Linked DNA regions of Homo sapiens: all the other regions are linked to region 1. The links are contacts of gene promoters, found by promoter capture Hi-C in blood cells and fetal thymus (Javierre and others, 2016). All regions are on one chromosome and are shown on one strand. Each heading gives the region's core, a stretch centred on a gene start or on the middle of the fragment in contact. The rest is flanking DNA. Distances are from core to core; before and after follow the strand shown. Region 1 holds the start of CD247 (CD247 molecule). Region 2 has its middle 50 kb from the start of STYXL2. Region 3 overlaps STYXL2 (serine/threonine/tyrosine interacting like 2). Region 4 overlaps LOC105371601 (a long non-coding RNA gene). Region 5 overlaps GPA33 (glycoprotein A33). Region 6 overlaps LINC01363 (long intergenic non-protein coding RNA 1363). Region 7 has its middle 7.2 kb from the start of GPA33-AS1.

Region 1 (2,700 bases), core at 90-2,589:
CTGACAGAAACCCCTGCAGCTGCACGGGCCTCAGAATCCCCCGAGGCGCTGGCCCGGGCTGTGCCTGGCTCCCTGGTGGGAGCAGAAGTGCCCATGGCCTCTCCTGCCCTCCCAACAGGGCCCCTAAACAAATTCCCACACCCAGGTGAGTTACCAGGAGCGATCAGGTGGGCCGAGGACATTTGCTTGCTTCACCTTCCCTGTTTCTTTAGATTGAAATTCAGCCTGCCCCACTTCTCAGGAAGATGCCACGAGGCTGATCCCCCTGAGCAGTTTGTCCTGTCCTCTTTTCACTGGTTTTCTTCCTCATTACCTGGGCTAGAAAACATGGTGGAAGCTAAAGGCTTGCAGCAAAGCTGGGCTCCCACGATCGGGAATGAGGTGAGGAGCAAGCACTCTTGTTGGCTGGGCGCTGCTCGTGGTGGTGACTTAACCAGGCACATCGTCTCATCTGCCCCGTGTTCTGTCAATGCCGGGCCCTCTGGCTGGGCTAGATGGCCGCCTAAGGGGCAGGCTGGGGTGAGTCACGGAGCCTGGGATGGTGCGTCACCCGGCAGTCCCAGGCGTGGGTGTGGGGACAGCCATGACAAGGCTGAGCCTAGACACGGACGCTTGGCCATGAGGTGGCGAAGGCGCTGTGGAGGCTGCCACCCGGTGCTTCCTGCCTGTGCCCCTCTCCTCCTTGGTTACCCCACTTACTCCCGGGCCCATTGGAGTGTTTCAGGCCATGACCTTGACTGACCAACAAAATCTTCTTTGTTGGCAAAGGAAGAAAGAAAGGGGCTGAGTGACGGAGCCAGCCAGAGGGTGAAAGAAGCTGAAGGGACTAGAACGTCGCAGCACGAAACATGGCCTGGCTGACATTTTCCGATCCTGTCCAGCTTCTGTGAAACACTCCCTCTCCGTTTCTCTACCCTGGGCCTGCCTCGGTTGCTCTCTTGCTTCCTTCTTCCTTCCTCTCTTATCACTCGAAAAATCTGTACCTGGAGGAGCTGTGTATTCTAGCAGCTGGCTCTGAACTGATGCCCAACTCGGCTGTGACGGAGCAGATGCCAGCACCGGGCCGGACCCCTCACTGCTCACTTGCCCATTGATTTGAGGAGGGCAGGATTTGAAGGAGACCCCAGCCCCTCACCACCCTCCACTACCCACACCCACTCCCCTACACATACACAAAGAGTTTCTAGAAGTTCCCTGCCGTCGACACGTCGGCCCTACCTGTAATCGGCAACTGTGCCTGCAGGATGGCCGCGGTGAAAAGCGCCTTCCACTTCATCTTGTCCTTTCCCTCAGAAAGAGGCTGGGAGGCAGAGGCTGAGGCAGCGGTGGCCGGGACGGTTAGGAGAAAAGGAGTCTCTGCTGGTTTTATTCTGCAGCTACCTCCCCAGGAAGTGGAGGACTGTGGGGCCTTTGAGAAAGCACCTGCCGACAGGGCCAAGAAATTCGCACTCCCCCTTTCGGTTCACAGGCAGGAAGCCCTGGAGGTTTGAGGGTTTGGGGTGTGTGTATGTATCTGTCTGTCTGAATTTTGCTTTTTCTCTCATTTGACCATTGTTTTAATGCTCCTTTTTTTAAAAAAAATAATTCTTATCTAATTCCTATCTTGATTGGTAAAGTCCATCTCTAGGCAAATACAAGTTCTCGATGGATGTAAGAACATTTGCTGTTTTCCTAGACTGTCAAATATTTTATGGTGGCTGGCAAAATGACAGAACCCTGGATTAGAGTCCAGGACAAATGTAGAGACAGATTCCTTGGGCTTTAGTGACATCTCTGCCTACCACCTACTTGCTGTGTGGCGTTGAGTCAGTCACTCAACATCTCTAGACTTCAGCTTCCTTATCTATAAAGCAAAGAGCTGGAGTAGATCTGAGGTTGCAGATCTGAACTTGGCCTGAATTTGGATCATTGTGTGAAATACTGTAGCTCACATAGTATTTTAAACACTTGTGTTAGTTGTCAACATTTAAACACCAGAGTAATTTACAATAATAAAACATTAAAACCTAGACATAAACTTCGTCTAAAAATTGTAATATATCTATATGAAACAAACTTTAAAACATTGCTGAAGAACGCCGAAAGGACTTGGGTAAATGGAAAGGCATACCCTTCTTTGATAGGAAGCTCTCTTTTAAGGAGACCACCATTCTCTCTTAATTAATCAATCTATTTCATTGAAAATACCAACAAAAAGTTTTAGAACAAGTTAAGCTGATTCCAAAATTGATATGAAAAAAATTAATGTACAAGAATAGCCAATAATCCAAAGTCACAGCAATCCAACATAAAATTGATAAATTGGACTTCATCACAATTAAAAGTTTTTGTGCATCAAAGGACACTATGAAGAAAGTGAGTCCTGCAAATCACCGCATACCTCTAAGTGATGGAAACAGCATTCCCATCATCAGACTTGGTACCTACTCAGAGCCTAAATTGACCCCTAAGGGGGCCGATGACTTACTCAAGGCCACACAGCAAGTAGGTGGTAGGTAGAGATGTCACTACAGCCCAAGTAGTCTGTCTCTACATTTAGTCTGAGTCTTCATCAGTGAAGGTTGTCATTGGTCTGGGGTGCTGACACACTGATGAAGCCTACATATACCAAAATGAAGACACAGCTGGGGAGGCCATCAGGGGGAAAATAGCAGAAGGAAAGGTGCAGAGGAAGGATATCTTCTACTGTGGAAAACTGTG
Region 2 (2,700 bases), core at 144-2,643, 370 kb before region 1:
TGTGGCCTGGGATTTTTGTGTGGGGGGGAGTTTTTAAATTACTACTTCCATCTTTAGTTTTTATAGATTTATTCAGGATTTCTATTTCTTCTTGAGTCAGTAGTTTGTGTCTTTCTAGGAATTTGTCCGTTTCATATATGATATCAATTTTTTTTTTTTGAGATGGAGTCTTGCTCTGTCACCCAGGCTGGAGTGCAGTGGCGCCATCTTGGCTCACTGCAACCTCTGCCTCCCGGGTTCTAACGATTCTCCTGCCTCAGGCTCCTGAGTAGCTGGGATTACAGGCGCATGCCACCATACCCGGCTAATTTTTGTAGTTTTAGTAGAGACGGGGTTTCACCATCGAACTCCTTTTTTTTTGGAGACGGAGTCTCTCTCTGTTGACCAGGCTGGAGTGCAGTGGTGCAATCTTGGCTCACTGCAAGCTCCGCCTCCTGGCTTCACGCCATTCCCCTGCCTCAGCCTCCCGAGTAGCTGGGACTACAGGTGCCCGCCACCACGCCCGGCTAATTTTTGTATTTTTAGTAGAGACGGGTTTCACCTTGTTAGTCAGGATTCTCTCAATCTCCTGACCTTGTGATCCGCCCGCCTCAGCCTCCCAAAGTGCTGGGATTACAGCCCTGAGCCACCGCACCCGGCCATGATATCAAATTTGTTGGCATGCAGTTATTTGTAATATACTTTTATGATCCTTTTAATTTTTGCAAGGTTGGTAATGATGTTTTTGTTTTCTTTCTTTTTTTTTTTTTTTTTTTTTTTTTTGAGACAGAGTCTCACTCTTTCACCTAGACTAGAGTGCAATGGCACAATCTCAGCTCACTGCAACTTCTGTCTCCCGGGTTCAAGAGATTCTCCTGCCTCAGCCTCCCGAGTAGCTGGGATTACAGGTGTACGCCACCATGCCCAGCTAATTTTTTGTATTTTTAGTAGAGACGGGCTTCACCGTATTGGCCAGGCCAGTCTCTAACTCCTGACCTCAAGTGATCCGCCCGCCTAGGCCTCCCAAAGTGCTGGGATTACAGCTACCACGCCCGGCCTCTTTTTTTTTTCATTCCTGATTTTAGTAATTTCTGTCTTCTCTCTTTTTTTTTCTTGGTAAGTTCAATTAAAGATTTGTCACCTTTGTTGAACATTTCCAAGAACCAACTTTTTACTGATATTCTCGATTGCTTTTCCATTCCATTTCATTTATATCTACTCTAATCTTTATTTCTTCCCTTCTTGCTTTGTATTTATTTCGTACTTTTTTTCCGTTTCTTTTACTTTTATGTGGTTGTTTTTTTTAGAGAGAAGGTCTGTCTCTGTCACTCAGGCTGGACTGCATTGGCACGATCATGGCTCACTGCAGCCTCAAACTCTTAGGCTTAAGTGATCCTCCCACCTCAGCCTCCCAAGTAGCTAAAGCTACAGGCACACACCACCACACCTGGCTAATTTTTTAATTTTTTATAGAGATGAGGTCTCACTACATTGCCCATCTAGGAGATGTCCGATGTGCCCTTGAGAAGAATGTGCATTGTGCTTTTGTAGGGTGTAGTGTCCATTAGGTCTAATGGGTTTATAATGTTGTTCATTTCTTTTTTTGTTTTGTTCTTGTTTTTGAGAAAGGGTCTCACTCTGTCATCTGGGCTGAAGTGCAGTGGCACAGTCGCGGCTTACTGCAGCTTCAACCTTCCAGGCTCAAGCGATTCTCCTGCCTCAGCCCCCTCTTCCCCTCACCTGGTAGCTGGGTCTATAGGCACACGCCACCATGCCTAGCTGATTTTTGTATTTTTTGTAGAGACAGGTTTTCACCATGTTGCCATATTTCATTATATATAAATAATATTTTTATTATCAGCAGCACTTTCAAATGGCCATTTTTTATTTTGGTCTACTTTTAGACCTACAGAAAAGTTGCAAAAAAAGTAATAAAGACTTCCTTTATGTCCCCCACTCTTATTCTAACATGTTTTATGGCCATAGTGCAATTATCAAAATAGTCAAATAGCCTTTTTTCCTCCTTCAATTTTTTTGTTGTGGTAAAATATACATGACATAGTCTGGGAGCATTGTCTAATGTCTATAATCCCAGCACTTTGGGAGGCTTAGGTGAGAGGATCACTTGAGCCGAGGAGTTCAAGACCAGCCTGGGAGATATAGTGAGACCTCATCTCTACAAAAAAGTAAACAAATTTAGCCAGGTGTGGTGGCACGCTCCTGAACTCCCAGCTATTTGGGAGACTGAGGTGGAAGAATCGCTTGAGCCCAGGAGGTGGAGGCTGGAGTAATGAGCCAAGATCACGCAACTGCACTCCAGCCTAGGCAATAGAATGAAACTCTGTCTCAAAAAAAAAAAAAAAAAAAAAAGAAAAAGAAAAAGAAAGAAAGAAAGAAAGAGAAAACACAGCATAGAATCTATAATCGTGACCATTTTAAGTGTACAGTTAAGTGATGTTAAATATATTCATAAAGTTGTACAATCATCACCACTACCCATCCCTGGAACTTTTTCATCTTGTAAAAGTCAAGCTCTATACCCCTTAAACAGTGACTCTTTCTTATCCCTTCTTTCCTGCCCCTGGAAACCACCATTCTGCTTTCTGTCTCTTTGATTTTTACTACTCTATGTGCCTCATATAAGTGGAATTATATAATATTTGTTTTCTTGTGACTGGCTTATTTCACTGAGCAAAACGTCCTCAAAGTTCATCCATGTGT
Region 3 (2,700 bases), core at 173-2,672, 400 kb before region 1:
GGGAGAGAGGCAAGCTCTACAGAGGCTGAAGTGTGAACCAGAGACCTAGTGAAAGCAGGAGTTGCCATCAGGGGTGAAGGGCTGGGACATTTGTTTTTAAATTGAAAAGAAAAGAAATGGAAACAACAACCTGCTAGATAAATAGCCGAGGAAGACAACACCGTGTATTTTAATGAGGTGTCAGGAGTCCCACTTTTTATATGTAGTAAGGGAAAGACATCTAAGTAGACACGGGAAGGGGAGCGGACTGAATTTGCTATGAAAGACCCCAGGAGAGCCAGGGGAGAAAACTGGGTAGTGGAGAAAATAGGAACACTTCATCTATTTTTAAACAAAATAGAGCTCTGGGATTGCAGGAGTTTTCTTCTTTCTGCGTTTGAAACGGAGATCAGAGAACGTTTAGAGCTGAGCCCTGATGCAGGGATGTGGGGGTCCCTCAGGGGGGTTAGAGGAGGGAAGAGAGAAGGGAAATGAAATCCTGAGCCCTAGGCAGAACCCAAGGCTCCCTGGATTTGCAGTCCATGAGCAACAAGCCCTGCTTACAGACCCCTGGGAGGAGCAGATTCCACGAGGGGCTGGACCAAGTCTACCTTCCAAATGTGGCTGGACTCTCTGCAGCCCCCACCCAGAGACTGCCCATCAGGGAAGAGATGGTGCCATCAAGAGGCTATGGGGAACACAGAGGAAACATCTTTCCAGCTTCTTTTCTCTCTCTCTCTCTATTCAGTATTTTGGCTACCATGTGAGAGGAACGATTTTGTTCTTTGTTATTTTTGTCTAACTTAAAGAAAGAAAGCATCTTACATTTCCCCAAATTTGATAAACTGTGAGCAAATATATTATTAGAAGATAAAGATTCACCCCAGATGTGAGTGAATTGGGGTTTGAGTTCATCTGGAGTTTGAGCTTTTCTGACCTGTTGTCAGAAAGGCCCTGAGTCACGTTTTGAGATTAGAATGAGAGCTCATGGCCAACCTTTGCCACCTGTCTGTGGGCTGGGAGGCTGAGAATCATAGGTCCTTACATTCTAGTAGGGGGAAGAAGACAATACAAGAAATAAATCAGTAAATTAGGTGTATATTAGAAGGCAATATTGCATAAATTACTGCTGAAAGTTTTACTTTTCCCAGGGTTATTTGCAATCCATATGTAAAAGAGTCAAACTAACAGAGTGAATTATACTATGAATGAATGCCATTCACTCATTTGGTAAATACTTCTACTTTTTTTTTTTTGGTTTTTTTTTTTTTTTTTGAGACAGAGTTTCGTTCTTTTTGCCCAGGCTGGAATGCAATGGCATGCTCTCAGCTCACTGCAACCTCCATTTCCCAGGTTCAAGTGATTCTCCTGCCTCAGCCTCCCAAGTAGCTGGGATTACAGGCACTCTCCACCACGCTTGGCTAATTTTGTATTTTTGTAGGGACAGTGTTTCACCATGTTGGTCAGATTGGTCTTGAACTGCTGACCTCAGGTCATCTGCCCACCTTGGCCTCCCAAAGTGCTGGGGTTACAGACGTGAGCCACTACGCCTGGCTGGTAAACACTTCTGAGCATCCACTTTGTACTGGGCACTGTGGGAGTTATTAAGTATGAATCAAAGTACACCTAATACTTAAGGAACTTGGTCTAAAAAATTATCGACCAGCTTCAGAGAAGCATGGGAGGGAGTAAAAGAAATTGGATCCCCTTTACCCACATCTATACAGTCTTCTTGCTGACCCTGATTACAAGTGTTTGGGCCAGTGCAGCAGGTACCCTGGGCCCAATTAAAGTCCTTCCTGGGAGATCCTGCTGGCATTCAGTCCATGCCCAGAATCCTGGCAGCAAACTGGCCAAGAGCATGTTCTCCCCAGGAACAAGGAAGGCCATGATGTTCCTAACTCTCTGATGAGAATGCTGCCTGTCTCCTCTAGAACTCAAGCCACCGGGGGTCAGAGCAGACGCAGAGTGTCCAGGCATGCTGGAGTCTGCTGAACAGCTGCTGGTGGAGGACCTGTACAACCGCGTCAGGGAGAAGATGGATGACACCAGCCTCTATAATACGCCCTGTGTCCTGGACCTACAGCGGGCCCTGGTTCAGGATCGCCAAGAGGCGCCCTGGAATGAGGTGGATGAGGTCTGGCCCAATGTCTTCATAGCTGAGAAGTGAGTCTGACTGCTCTTCATGACCCTTTGTCCTAACCCTCTGGTTAGTGCCTGAGACAGACGAAACTCCCCCAACTTTCACCAAAGGCGCCCATAGGTCCATCCAGCACAATGAGGCTGCCTAGCCACTTACCCTGCCCCAGCCCAGAGAAAGGCCCCTCCATCCACCTGCATTCGGAGGTCTCCAGGCAAGATGCCGCCATGACTGCTTATCCTTTGCCCTCTTGCCAGGACTCTCTTGTCCCTCAAGAAGGCCTCTGGGCCTCCTTTCCTGCCACAGAGTCTTGCCGACTTCACCATCTCATGACATCTGTAGCTACCACAGAACCGGACACTAGGAGCCATTGACAATAATACTGACATGCATATGTAATTACCAACATTGGAAAATGTTCACAATACAGTAAGAAAGAATTAGATTACAAGAGAAGACATGTACAGTGTGCTGCTAATTGAGCAACAGATGTATGTGTATGTGTGTGCATGTTTTTGCATAGACAACAGTTAGGAAATGTGAGAAAATGTGAACAATGTTTCTCTCTGGGAGGTGTTTTT
Region 4 (2,700 bases), core at 102-2,601, 350 kb before region 1:
TCAGCTGATCCATCCAGTGCAGCATCTGCAAAATATCTCAAGCACTGATCTTAGGAGCAGTTTAGGTTGGGTCAGAATCTTGTAGTGTCCAGCTGCATGACTCCTAAACCATAATTTCTAATCTTGTGGCTAATGTTAGTCCTACAAAGGCGTCTTGTTTGGGGAAAGGGCTGTTATCGTCTTTGTTTTAAACTATAAACTAAGTTCCTCCTACGCCCAGGAATGAATAAGGACAGCTTGGAGGTTAAAAGCAAAATGGAGTCAGTTACGTTAGATCTCTTTCACTGTCTCAGTCATAATTTTGCAAAGGCAGTTTCAATCATAGAGAAGAGATAACACATTTGAGAGAAATGTGTTTCTTAATCCATCTTCAGTCTCTATTGTGAGGCAGACACTACCTCCACCAGGCATTTCCCTCTTTAAGAGTGTGTTTGAAGACACCCTAAACTTTAATATTTGTGGCAGACCTGATCTTTGCACAAATGATTGGGAGTTATTTTTTAAAGGGCCAGGGACTTCATCACTGCATATCTTTTGGCATGAGGCTAAAGAGAAGAAGGTGTAGAAATCCTGACATTGTTAGGAGATATTTTTCACGTTGTTTTATAAAATGTAATGTACTTTCCAAAACTGTATATAAGCTAACCAGCTTCTATCTCCTCTATCACAGACGGAGCTGAGCAGAGTTAAGCATTCTGATTTCAATTCATGAAGCAGGAAATCTTTCTGGCAGGTCCTGGTGAGTTTCCAGTTTGGCTGCTGACAGATAGAGAAATGTGCTTTCTATAGCCTCTTCCTCTCCATCCCACGTCCACTGTGCACATTCTTCAGAGCTGGCAAGAGTCACTGACAGGACATGGCACCCATGGTTTGAAGCGCCGACTTTTCTCTGCAGGTGGCCCAGAGCCAGTGAAGGACTTTCTTGAAGCACATAGCACGCCATGGTCATACAACGGCGATATGTAGCCTGGGTGTCACTCACTGAGACACATTTCCTCCCTCCACCCCCACCCATCTTTCTTAAAATTTAGCATTTTCTGGACAAGATCAGGCTTACTATAAGACAGTGCTTAGAAAAACTGATGTTAAGATGGAAAAAATAAGGGAAGGAGAGGGAAGAAAAGGTGGGAAAGAGATTAGAAAAAGAGGAGGAAGATGATGGGGAAACTGGAAACAAAGAGTTAAAAAAAGTGGGGAGGAATAATGCTGTGAGGTTGAAGACTTCTACCTCAATGCCTTTGCATTTGCTGCCTCCACTAGTAACTCTCTCTCCTCAGTGATCTCACTCCCTCAATTCACTTCACACATCACTTTACAGTGACGCCATCCTTGGACTCCCTAGCAAAATCCACCCCCTTCCGTCACTCGCTAATTGCTTAACCAGTTCTACTTTCCTTCATAGCAGTGATCACCACCTAGAATATCACACATTTATTGGTTTGTCTTTCCTCAAGGGAATGTAAACTTCACCAGTACAGGGACTTTTTCAATTTCATTCCCTGCTATATTTTAAGCATCTAGTACAATGCCTGGCACAGAGCAGGTATATTAGTCAGAGTTCTCCAGAGAGACAGAATGAATAGGCTATGGACAGACACATAGAAAGATATAAGAGGAGATTGATTAGGGGAATTGGCTCATGTGATTATGGAGGCTGAGAAGTACCATGACAGGCTACCTCTACGTTAGAGACCTCAGGAAGCTGGTAGCATGACCTAGTCCAAGTCTAAAGACCTCTGAACCAGAGAAGCCGATAGTGTAACTCTCAATCCAAGGCCAAAAGCCCAAGAAAACCAGGGAGAGGCCACTGGTGCAGGTCCTGACCTGACCTAAAGGCCAGTAAGTCTGGAGTTCTGATGTCCAAGGGTAGGAGAAGAAGGGTGTGCCAGCTCCAGAAGGGAGGGGAAAGAATTTGCCTTTCTTCTACCTTTTTGCTCTCTTCAGGCCCCCCTTGATTGGACAGTGCCTATGTACATTGAGGGCAGACTTCCTCCCTCAGTCCACTGACTCACACGCCGGTCTCCTCTGGAAGCACCCTCATGGACACACCCAGAAACAATGCTGTACCAGTTCTCTAGGTGTTCCTTAATCTTGTCAAGTTTGGCACCTAAAATTAACCATTACAGTAGGTGTTCAGTAAACATTTGTTGAATACATAAATGGGAGGTCCTGGGGCTCCTTAAGAAAAAACAACAACAACAACAAAAAACCTCCTCCTTCCCCACCCAATCTCACAATGTCCCTGGAAAGAATGATCATTTTTATTTCATAACTTTATTTCATGGAGATAAATTGTTTTTATTCACATATAGTTTGAACCTTCCCCTCCTTTTCATAATTTTTTCCTACCAACACCCTAACCTCCTATAGAGTGAGAGAGAAAGAGAGCGGGAGGACACGTGCCAGTTCGTGTGCCATCAAAGGAATCGGCCTTTCTTTCATGGCAATGCCTTTGGAGCAAACCTGAAGCCTGTAAGGCAACAACAATGACAGTCTCTTTCCCACCTCCCAGAAGAGGATGAGAATAAATCCAGCGATAATGGGAAGAGTGTGATGTGAGGCAGAGCTAACATCACAGAGATCCCAGGGAACATTATTTTTCCCTCTCCTTTCTAAAGACACCATAAAAAGCTCCAGATTTTTCTTTCTGAGTGGTGACTGCTTTAAAGAATATAAAATCTGAGATACTGTGAACCCCCA
Region 5 (2,700 bases), core at 127-2,626, 460 kb before region 1:
TGCCCCCAAACGAGTGATAAAGCTCTTCCTGGATTGAGTGCACCCCCAATGTGTGCATCCGTCCGGCTGGGCTTATCCAGGACACCAGATATTCTTCCCCCGGGTCCTCATCCCCACCCCCGGGGCACCTCATCTTCTCAGAAGAGCTGTGTGCCCTGCTGGCTTTGCTTTCCACCTCTGGCCTCCTTTTCCACCTACACTGAACTGAAAGACCTCCCAGAAGCTAAATCGGATGGACACCTTTCAGGCCTTGTCTTTCTTTTTAAAAAATATTTTATTTATTTTATTTTATTTTACTTTATTTTATTTTATTTTACTTTATTTTATTTTATTTTATTTGAGGCAGGGTCTCGCTCTGTCACCAAGGCTGGAGTGCAGTGGTGTGATCATGGCTCACTGCAGCCTCGACCTCCAGAGCTTAAGCAATCCTCCCACCTCAGCCTTCTGAGTAGCTGGGACTAAAGGGTGAGTCCTGCCATGCCCAGCTAATTTTTTAAAAATTTTGTTTGGAGACAGGGGTCTCACAATGTTGCCCAGACTGGTCTTGAACTCCTAGCCTCAAGTGATCCTCCTGCCTCAGCCTCCCAAAGTGCTGGGATTACAGGCATGAGCCACGGCACCCAGCAAGCCTTGTCTTTCTTGATCCTCAGGAGCAGGGGTGGCACTAGGGGCCCTGGGACTCCACCAGGGTATTTCCACACCCATTGGCTCTGGGTGTGGAAAGGATGGTAGGATTTTTATATAGCTCTTTCTTTTTTTTTTTTTTTTTTTTTCAGTTTCCTGACTGAAAGGTCCAATACCAAGCTGCCCAGTACAAAACTGGTCTCCTGGCAACTATAGCTGAATCCACCATCGCCTCCCCTAAGAAGGTGGGACCCTTACAGCAACATGGTGCTGTCGTTGTGTGGAGCCATAAAACGGTGGTGTGTCTGGGGCAGCGGGGGTCCGTGACGGCTGAGAGGGACCGGCCTGGATAAGGAATGGGAAAGTTAAATTCCCCACCTTTGCGTGGAGCCCCCGAGTTAGACTTGGGGTCTCAAATGTATACTTCAGGACACAATCAAATTAAAATCCTACCCATGCTTTTGCACAGAGTGCTTATCAGGGCACGTTCATCCAAGAGAACTGAGGAATGAGGAACAAAGAAAACAAGTTAACATTTACCACGGCTTCCGCTACGCGCTTTACATGAATCATTTTTGTTTCTTGCCAGAACCTATGAGGTAGGTATTATTATAAGAAACCAGTGCTGGCCGGGCGCGATGGCTCACGCCTGTAATCCCAGCACTTTGAGAGGCTGAGGCGGGTGGATCACCTGAGGTCAGGAGTTCAAGACCAGCCTGGCCAACATGGTGAAACCCCGTCTCTACTAAAAATAGTGGTGGGCACCTGTAATCCTAGCTACTTGGGAGGCTGAGGCAGAAGAATCGCTTGAACCTGGGAGGAGGAGGTTGCAGTGAGCTGAGATCGTGCCAACTGCACTCCAGCCTGGGCCACCTGGCGAGACTCTGTCTAAAAACAAGAAACCAGTGCTTAGAGAGGTGGGGATAGGGGGATAGGGATGGGTAGGGAAGCAAGCGGCCTTCAGGGGGATCTGATCGGTCAACCCAAGTTGCAGCCCCTAGCCAATCAGCTGCATGTGTTGCACTTTGACGTGGGGAGCCCGCCTTCCCTACTGCCCCCTTACCTGGCTGGGCCAGGGGCTGCTCCTGATTCAGGATGTTGTACCTCTTCCAGCTGTACTGAGGGGTTGGTGAGCCCTCCTTTGATTGGCAGGTCAGCTGGATGTTGTTCCCAATTATGGTCTCTCCCTCGATGCCGCATTCTGGTTTGGAGGGTGGCACTATATAGAGGAGAGACCAAAGAGAAGGCATGAGGCAGGTGGGGCTTGGTGACAGCCACCCACCCCTCCCCACCCACCCCCCACACACATATACTGCCTTGTTTGTTCACAGGCAGAAAACTCCATAGTTGAGTAGTGAGATGGAATGCTGTAAAACCAATTCACCCCAATATGGCCTCAGTGGTCTGTCACCACCACAAAGGAGCAGTACATATGCTGGGAAGCATTGCGGGCCTGCAGTAGCTTTCCAAGGCATGGCCTCATGTGTGTTCTAGTTTACAGTCATGGGATTTTAAAGATAGCGGAACATGGCCGTTAGAAAGATGGGGTTCGAGATGAGTTTGAGACCAGCCTGGTCAACATGGTGAAACCCCATCTCTACTAAAAATACAAAAAATTAGCCGGCCGTGGTGGCACCCACCTATAATCCCAGTTACTCAGGAGGCTGAAGCAGGAGAATTGCTTGAATCTGGGAGGCGGAGGTTGCAGTGAGCTGAGATCGTGCCATAGCACTCCAGCTTGGGCAACAAGAGCAAAACTCTGTCTCAAAAAAAGAAAGAAAAGAAAAAAAGAAAAAGAAAGAAAGAAAGAAAGAAAGATGGGGACATTGAGGCCCAGAGAGGACACTTGCTCATAGGTACTGGCAGAGCTGGGACTAGATCTCAGCTCTTATAACTCCAGATCCTGTGCACTCTCCACCAGCCCATATGAGCTCCTTCTGCCACTAATTCATTTGTGCCATTTTGGGAAAATCCTCACTTCCCCTCGACCTCAGTGTTCCATTCTGTAAAATTAGTGGACTACAAACCTGTTCTGTAAAGGGCCAGGTGGCAATATTTAGGCTTCGCAGACTACAT
Region 6 (2,700 bases), core at 197-2,696, 330 kb before region 1:
CCTTAGCTGAGTGGGGACCTAGCCCCAGTAAATGGGATCCTGGCTCTGATACGTTTTGGCTGTGTCCCCACCCAAATCTCATCTTGAACTGCAACTCCCACAATTCCCACGTGTCATGGGAGGAACCCAGTGAGAGGTGATTTAGTTATGCGGGTGGGTCTTTCCTGAACTGTTCTCATGAGAGTGAATGAATCTCACGAGAGCTGATGGTTTAAGAAAATGGAAGTTTGCCAGCACAAGCTCTCTGTTTTTGCCGCCACCATCCATGTAAGACACGACTTGCCCCTCCCTGCCTTTTACCTTCCACCATGATTGTGAGGCCTCCCTAGCCACGTGGAACTGTAAGTCCAATAAATCTCCTTCTTCTGTAAATTGCCCAGTCTTGGGAATGTCTTTACCAGCAGCGTGAAAACGGACTAATATAGGCTCCAAAGCTTCAATCAAAAAGAAGGGAAGGTATGTGATTTGGCAGCCCAAGTAACTTCGGAGAATTAAAACGAATCTGACCCAAGAAGGAGTTTTGTATTTCCTAATTTAAAACAAAAATTTCTCCTTAAGTCTTACACTTTCTGAAAGTAATTCATTTGGGACATTGCTAGCATAGGACTGATACCTTGTACTAGAGAAAGAAAGATGAATTCAAGTCAGAAAGTTAGCATGCAAAGTCCAGTATGTGTGCAACCAGATCAGAAAGGGATATTTGATGGGATACATATGAAAGCAATGGTTAGAGAAAAATAAACCACTTCATGTTCATAGGGTTAATATTACTCAATAAACAAGTTAAAATTGGTGAGAGATTTCCTATATATTTAAGTGCAACAGCAAACTGCAGAACCATACGTACATCTATATTTATATAGAGAGTCAGCATTTGTGTATTAATAAAAAAGCCTATGCCCCTATGTATGTACATATTTGCTTCCTTTTGTATAAAGTGTCTCTGGAAAGACATACAAAACAGGTAGTAACAGTTGCTTCTGAAGAAGGTAACTGGGTAGCTGGGAAACTTACTTTCAAAATATCATTTTGTAGCTTTTGCATGTTGTATCATATGACTATTTTATCTATTCAGCAAATTTAAAATTAAAAAATCACCCTCTGCAAGTCCCTTCAGATTTTATTTTTCTAAGTCCAGATACAGCATTTTAAACATATTCCTGGATTTGAACACTAAAGACAAAAATGGAATTATGATAGTGAGGCCACAAAGGAGACTCAGGAACAACCTGTGGGTGTTAGGTTTAAAAATCTGGACAGAGTCTTTCTTTCCTGTGTGGATGATAGTTTTTTGTGATAGCTGAACACACCCCCTCAGGGAGAATGTAAGAGATGTTGACTGGTACTCAGAGAGAATGCCAGTTGCTGAGCATTCCACATTCCAACAAAAGTTCCCAACACTTCTCTCAGGCTCACCAGACTGGCTCTGCTATCCCCGAACCTAATGCCAACATCCTTCTTCCTAAGGCTGATAGGCAGTAGAGAGAGTTGGATGCACTGGGAGTGCAAACCAGAAGTCATCCTGTCCCACTGGTGATAGTTACCTGGTCAGCTCTACAGTCCAGGTGGTCTCTTGGTCCCCACCTTGACTTCTCTCCTCTCACTGTCAGGCCACAGGTACCACATCACATAACCTGTGACATCTCTGTTCTAGAAAGCAGAAACTGTGCCCTGTTCACTTTATCCCTAGCCCCCAGCATAGTGCCTGGCCCACTGTGGTACCGACTGTAATGATTGTTGGATGAATGAATGCCCCAACAAGTGAATAAACAAATGAATAAATGGCATTAAGCTCTTTACTGTCCAAAGTTCCAAGCCAAAAGAGATGTTTTCCTCTAAGGTGATAAGTGTCTCTATATCCAGCATATCCAGTGTTTGTTGACAGGGCCTCTCAGCCTTCACAGCACCTTGTGCAAATTAGGAAAGCACATGCCTCCAGGCAGATGTACCCATAAGCCATAGCTTGGTGGCAGAAGGAGCCTCTGAGAGAAGGTAAAAGTGCCTTTCTCTGGGAAGACGGCCTGGATTGCTGCATTCAGGTTAGATTTCCAGACTCATTCACCCCTAGGCTGGGCATCTCTATGCAGAACCCCAACCACACAACCTTGAGCAGCTACAGAATTCCTTCCCTTTACCTCACTTCTGTTATGCCATCTCCATCTCCTCCTCCACTGGTATTTACTCCCCCACATCTCTTCCCCATCCCCTTTACCCAAGGGGCCCCTCCCAGGCTATCTCTACTCCATGTCTCTTACTCTCTTCCCTTCTCAATCTCTCATCGAGATTTTTTTCTTTCCATATTTCCTGGCTGCTCATCCTTTCTTTCATCAGCACATACTGTGATTCACACGTTTTCTCATTCTTCTCTTGTGGTACCATATTGAAAAAGAGTTTGTTTATCCCATTTAACAGAAAATAAACTAAGACTCAAGCAGTTTATATAACTTGATGAGATCACACAAGCTTTAAGGAACAAAGTTAGTAATTTAATCCAAATTGAGGTGACATCAAACACAAAGTTCTGACTTCTGCTTCTGGCTATAATTGAATAACAGGAACCAGATTTTATCCTGCTGCCTAAAACAGTAACAAAAAGAGGGATGAGATATATGAAACAGTAGTTTCAGGACACTGGGTATCAGGTAACAAAGGATAGTGATCCTGCAGAGACAGAAAATAAAATTAATGAGCCCTACAATT
Region 7 (2,700 bases), core at 78-2,577, 470 kb before region 1:
AAGCTCAAAAGCATCTCCGGTTTTGATTGCCAAGTGGGGGAGGCAGTGAAAGTACACTAAATTATGAGTCCAGGTGCCTCTCTACAGAAATCCACTTCCGCCTCGCTGCCGCTCTGAAGGCGCGCAGTGGGTGTTGACGTCACCTTCGGCCACAGGAGCTTGGAGAGGCTGGGGCCCTGACTCCCCGCGGGATCCGCTGGTAGACCAGGGCGTGCTCTCAGACTGGAAGTGCAGGAAGGCTCGCTTACTCTCGCCATAGACCAGACTGACAGGGGTCTGCCAAGGCTGCTGGGAATGTGGGAAGTGAACTTTAGGTGGAAACAGAAAAGCTTCTCTCTCCGTGGGTAGCCTTTTTTTTTTTTTTTTAGTTCAGGAGAGAAAAAAAAAATCATAGAAGCCTGCCAAGCCAAATAAACTATGCTCAATTAAGTCTTTCAACTGTGCAATTCCTCTTGTTGATTTTATGAGGAAAAGGGCAGAATAGAAACATGATGGGCTTGTTTAAAATACTTCAAAAGGGAAGAACCTATATTCTCCTGCTTCCCAGACCGACCTCTTTCGGGCTTTCCTTTCCTCCAGCCATGCTGCAGGCCTTTCACTGTCATCTCCTCCATCTGTGATAAAGCTGTCCACAGAACCCGTCCTCAGCTGCTTTCTCACCACACACCCTCACTCAGGGCATGTCCTCCATGTCATGCCCCTCATCCAGGCCTGTGACTCCCAAGGAGCTGAATCAGCCAAAACTCTCCCTCCCCAACCCCAACTCCAGGCGCTTATACCTCACTCCCCACAGCTGTTTTTATTATTCGTATTCACTGCTACTCAATCCCATCTTGTTTTCAAGAGGACTTAAGGTGGATTCCACAAATACATAAAAGATGAGAACTAAATAAAGTCAAAATCACTGTGAAGATAAAATGAGGGCAAAAAAGGAGAGAGAGCGAGATGAAATCATGGACAAAGTTAGTTCACCAACTCCATTTAGAAAAATCCTGAACAGTTCCTTGACATATATAAGTTTGACTCTGAACTTCCTAGCAATCATTGCAATGAGGAAAGCACAAGTTGTATATAATTCATGGTGTCCTTAACACAATGTGTCTATAGCAGACTTGCTTATATGTAGCAAAAACTTATGACCTAATGGGAATAGAAAAAAAAAAAGAAGAAACCGGGTGCAGTGGCTCACGCCTGTAATCCCAGCACTTTGGGAGGCCAAGGCAGGTGGATCACCTGAGGTCAGGAGTTCGAGACCAGCCTGGCCAACATGGCGAAACCCCGTCTCTACTGAAAATACAAAAATTAGCCGGGCTTGGTGGCAGATGCCTGTAATCCCAGCTACTTGGGAGGCTGAGGCAGGAGAATTTCTTGAACCCAGGAGGTGGAGGTTTCAGTGAGCCAAGATCGTGGAAAAAAAACCCAAAAAACTGAGCAGCAAAAACTTTCCTAGTAAGCAGACCTGAGAGAAAATTATCTGGTGGATTTTCATCAACAAGTAATTTACAATGTAGTGAGCAGTGTCCTCAACAATACTCTAATGATAAATACAAAAATGAGAGACCTAATATTGCTTCTAACAATTTCCTACAATGATGACCAGTGGAATAATGCTAAAGTAGTTATGTAAAAGAATTCCAGAGGGACTCAAGGTGATTCCAACCGAAGATGCAGATCCGATGGCTTGGCTTGAGACAAGGAAAAAGTAAAGAATATTCTATACTTTGTACAACTCTCTGTAAGTACTATTTCTTTTATTGGAAGTTTTGAAATGTATCGATCAGCAGTAAGTCCAAACTTATAATCTCTTGAAATTTCTGGGGTGCAAATATTCTTAGTCGGATTTAAGTGCAAATATTCTTAAATTTAAGCCAGCCTAGAAGGGTGGAGTGGGGTTAGGGTGACATGTTTTTATGTAGGTTGAAATGCTTAATTTAGACACTTGCCCATGCAGAGGCCACTTCCCTGGTTTTGCATAAAGTTGGCTTGAAGGGCTACCAATGAGCAGAAAACAAGGTTTGTTCCAAACCAGGAATATATAAGCAGATGAGGCCAGGTCTCTATGCCCCAGAACAATGCTGCAACAGAAAGGAGAATGGGGAGGAGGAAGACTCATAGGAGAGATGCTAAAGGGATAATGTCTTCAAAACTGGCCACTAGTTGACTTTAAAAAAAAGTGGCATCTAGGAGGACTCTCAGGTTGGGAAAAACTTTCATTCAGGGGCTCTTTTCTTGTCATTGTATTGCTCTGAGCAAATCATTCCCTGTCCAGTTACTGCTGGTAAAGAGAAAAGGGGCTGCTGCAGCCCAACACTACAGGAATCAGCTGCAAGCTTCAAAGAGGGTGCCTCGCCAGAGAAAATAACAAGAGAGGGACTCCCCCGAGCCCACACTTGAGGCCGAGTGACTGCAATCAGGAGCGAAGGCTTCTGAAGAGGAGCAATGCCTGAAGCTGAGGTATAAGCAGTCTCCCAGGGTCAGGGTCTCCCTGAGGTGGAGAAGCCTGTAGGCTGTCCACCCTGAGGGCCTGGGCAAGTGCTTGTGGTCCCTACACCTCATTCCCTTGGTCACCTGCTTGTAGTTCAGCTATAATGGACAGGTCCACTCATGATGCCTCTGCACCTACTCAAGTGCATGCTACGCTTTTCTTTATTCCCTCAGGAGATTTCTACCAACCTATGGGGGGCAGCTGGGAAGTGTGGG

What was found. The method cuts DNA at HindIII sites, captures the fragments that hold promoters and counts their contacts. A CHiCAGO score of 5 or more calls a contact.
Region 2: a contact is called between a fragment that was not itself captured here and the fragment with the promoter of CD247 in region 1, in 1 of 17 cell types (naive B cells). The highest score is 6.0, in naive B cells.
Region 3: a fragment that was not itself captured here is called in contact with the fragment with the promoter of CD247 in region 1 in 2 of 17 cell types (neutrophils and endothelial precursors); the score reaches 6.0 in neutrophils.
Region 4: a fragment that was not itself captured here is called in contact with the fragment with the promoter of CD247 in region 1 in 1 of 17 cell types (total B cells); the score reaches 5.3 in total B cells.
Region 5: a contact is called between a fragment that was not itself captured here and the fragment with the promoter of CD247 in region 1, in 2 of 17 cell types (total B cells and fetal thymus). The highest score is 8.1, in total B cells.
Region 6: a contact is called between a fragment that was not itself captured here and the fragment with the promoter of CD247 in region 1, in 1 of 17 cell types (total B cells). The highest score is 5.9, in total B cells.
Region 7: a contact is called between a fragment that was not itself captured here and the fragment with the promoter of CD247 in region 1, in 1 of 17 cell types (fetal thymus). The highest score is 6.3, in fetal thymus.

Annotation. Positions count from the first base shown.
Region 1 is chr1:167,517,190-167,519,889 of GRCh38, forward strand. CD247 (CD247 molecule) reads right to left here and starts at 1,340. Exons shown (of 8, transcript NM_198053.3): 1 at 1,219-1,340. The coding sequence starts at 1,276. It also overlaps the pseudogene AKR1D1P1. RefSeq lists enhancers at 1-700, 1-1,171. The HindIII fragment of the contact is 3,961 bases long and covers 1-2,700 here.
Region 2 is chr1:167,142,580-167,145,279 of GRCh38, forward strand. No RefSeq gene overlaps it. Among named protein-coding and RNA genes, the nearest start is that of STYXL2, 50 kb to the left of the region's middle. The HindIII fragment of the contact is 6,442 bases long and covers 1-2,700 here.
Region 3 is chr1:167,115,415-167,118,114 of GRCh38, forward strand. STYXL2 (serine/threonine/tyrosine interacting like 2) reads left to right here. Exons shown (of 6, transcript NM_001080426.3): 4 at 1,914-2,145. Among named protein-coding and RNA genes, the nearest start is that of STYXL2, 23 kb to the left of the region's middle. The HindIII fragment of the contact is 3,511 bases long and covers 1-2,700 here.
Region 4 is chr1:167,167,826-167,170,525 of GRCh38, forward strand. It overlaps LOC105371601 (a long non-coding RNA gene), which reads left to right. Exons shown (of 3, transcript XR_922250.3): 2 at 671-739. Among named protein-coding and RNA genes, the nearest start is that of LINC01363, 27 kb to the right of the region's middle. The HindIII fragment of the contact is 6,292 bases long and covers 1-2,700 here.
Region 5 is chr1:167,061,895-167,064,594 of GRCh38, forward strand. GPA33 (glycoprotein A33) reads right to left here. Exons shown (of 7, transcript NM_005814.3): 4 at 1,688-1,843. It overlaps GPA33-AS1 (GPA33 antisense RNA 1), which reads left to right. Exons shown (of 6, transcript XR_922249.3): 4 at 777-869; 5 at 1,094-1,223. Among named protein-coding and RNA genes, the nearest start is that of GPA33-AS1, 11 kb to the left of the region's middle. The HindIII fragment of the contact is 3,499 bases long and covers 1-2,700 here.
Region 6 is chr1:167,190,755-167,193,454 of GRCh38, forward strand. The region is part of intron 2 of LINC01363 (long intergenic non-protein coding RNA 1363); the gene reads right to left. Among named protein-coding and RNA genes, the nearest start is that of LINC01363, 3.7 kb to the right of the region's middle. The HindIII fragment of the contact is 2,029 bases long and covers 433-2,461 here.
Region 7 is chr1:167,044,111-167,046,810 of GRCh38, forward strand. No RefSeq gene overlaps it. Among named protein-coding and RNA genes, the nearest start is that of GPA33-AS1, 7.2 kb to the right of the region's middle. RefSeq lists an enhancer at 1-64. The HindIII fragment of the contact is 2,001 bases long and covers 328-2,328 here.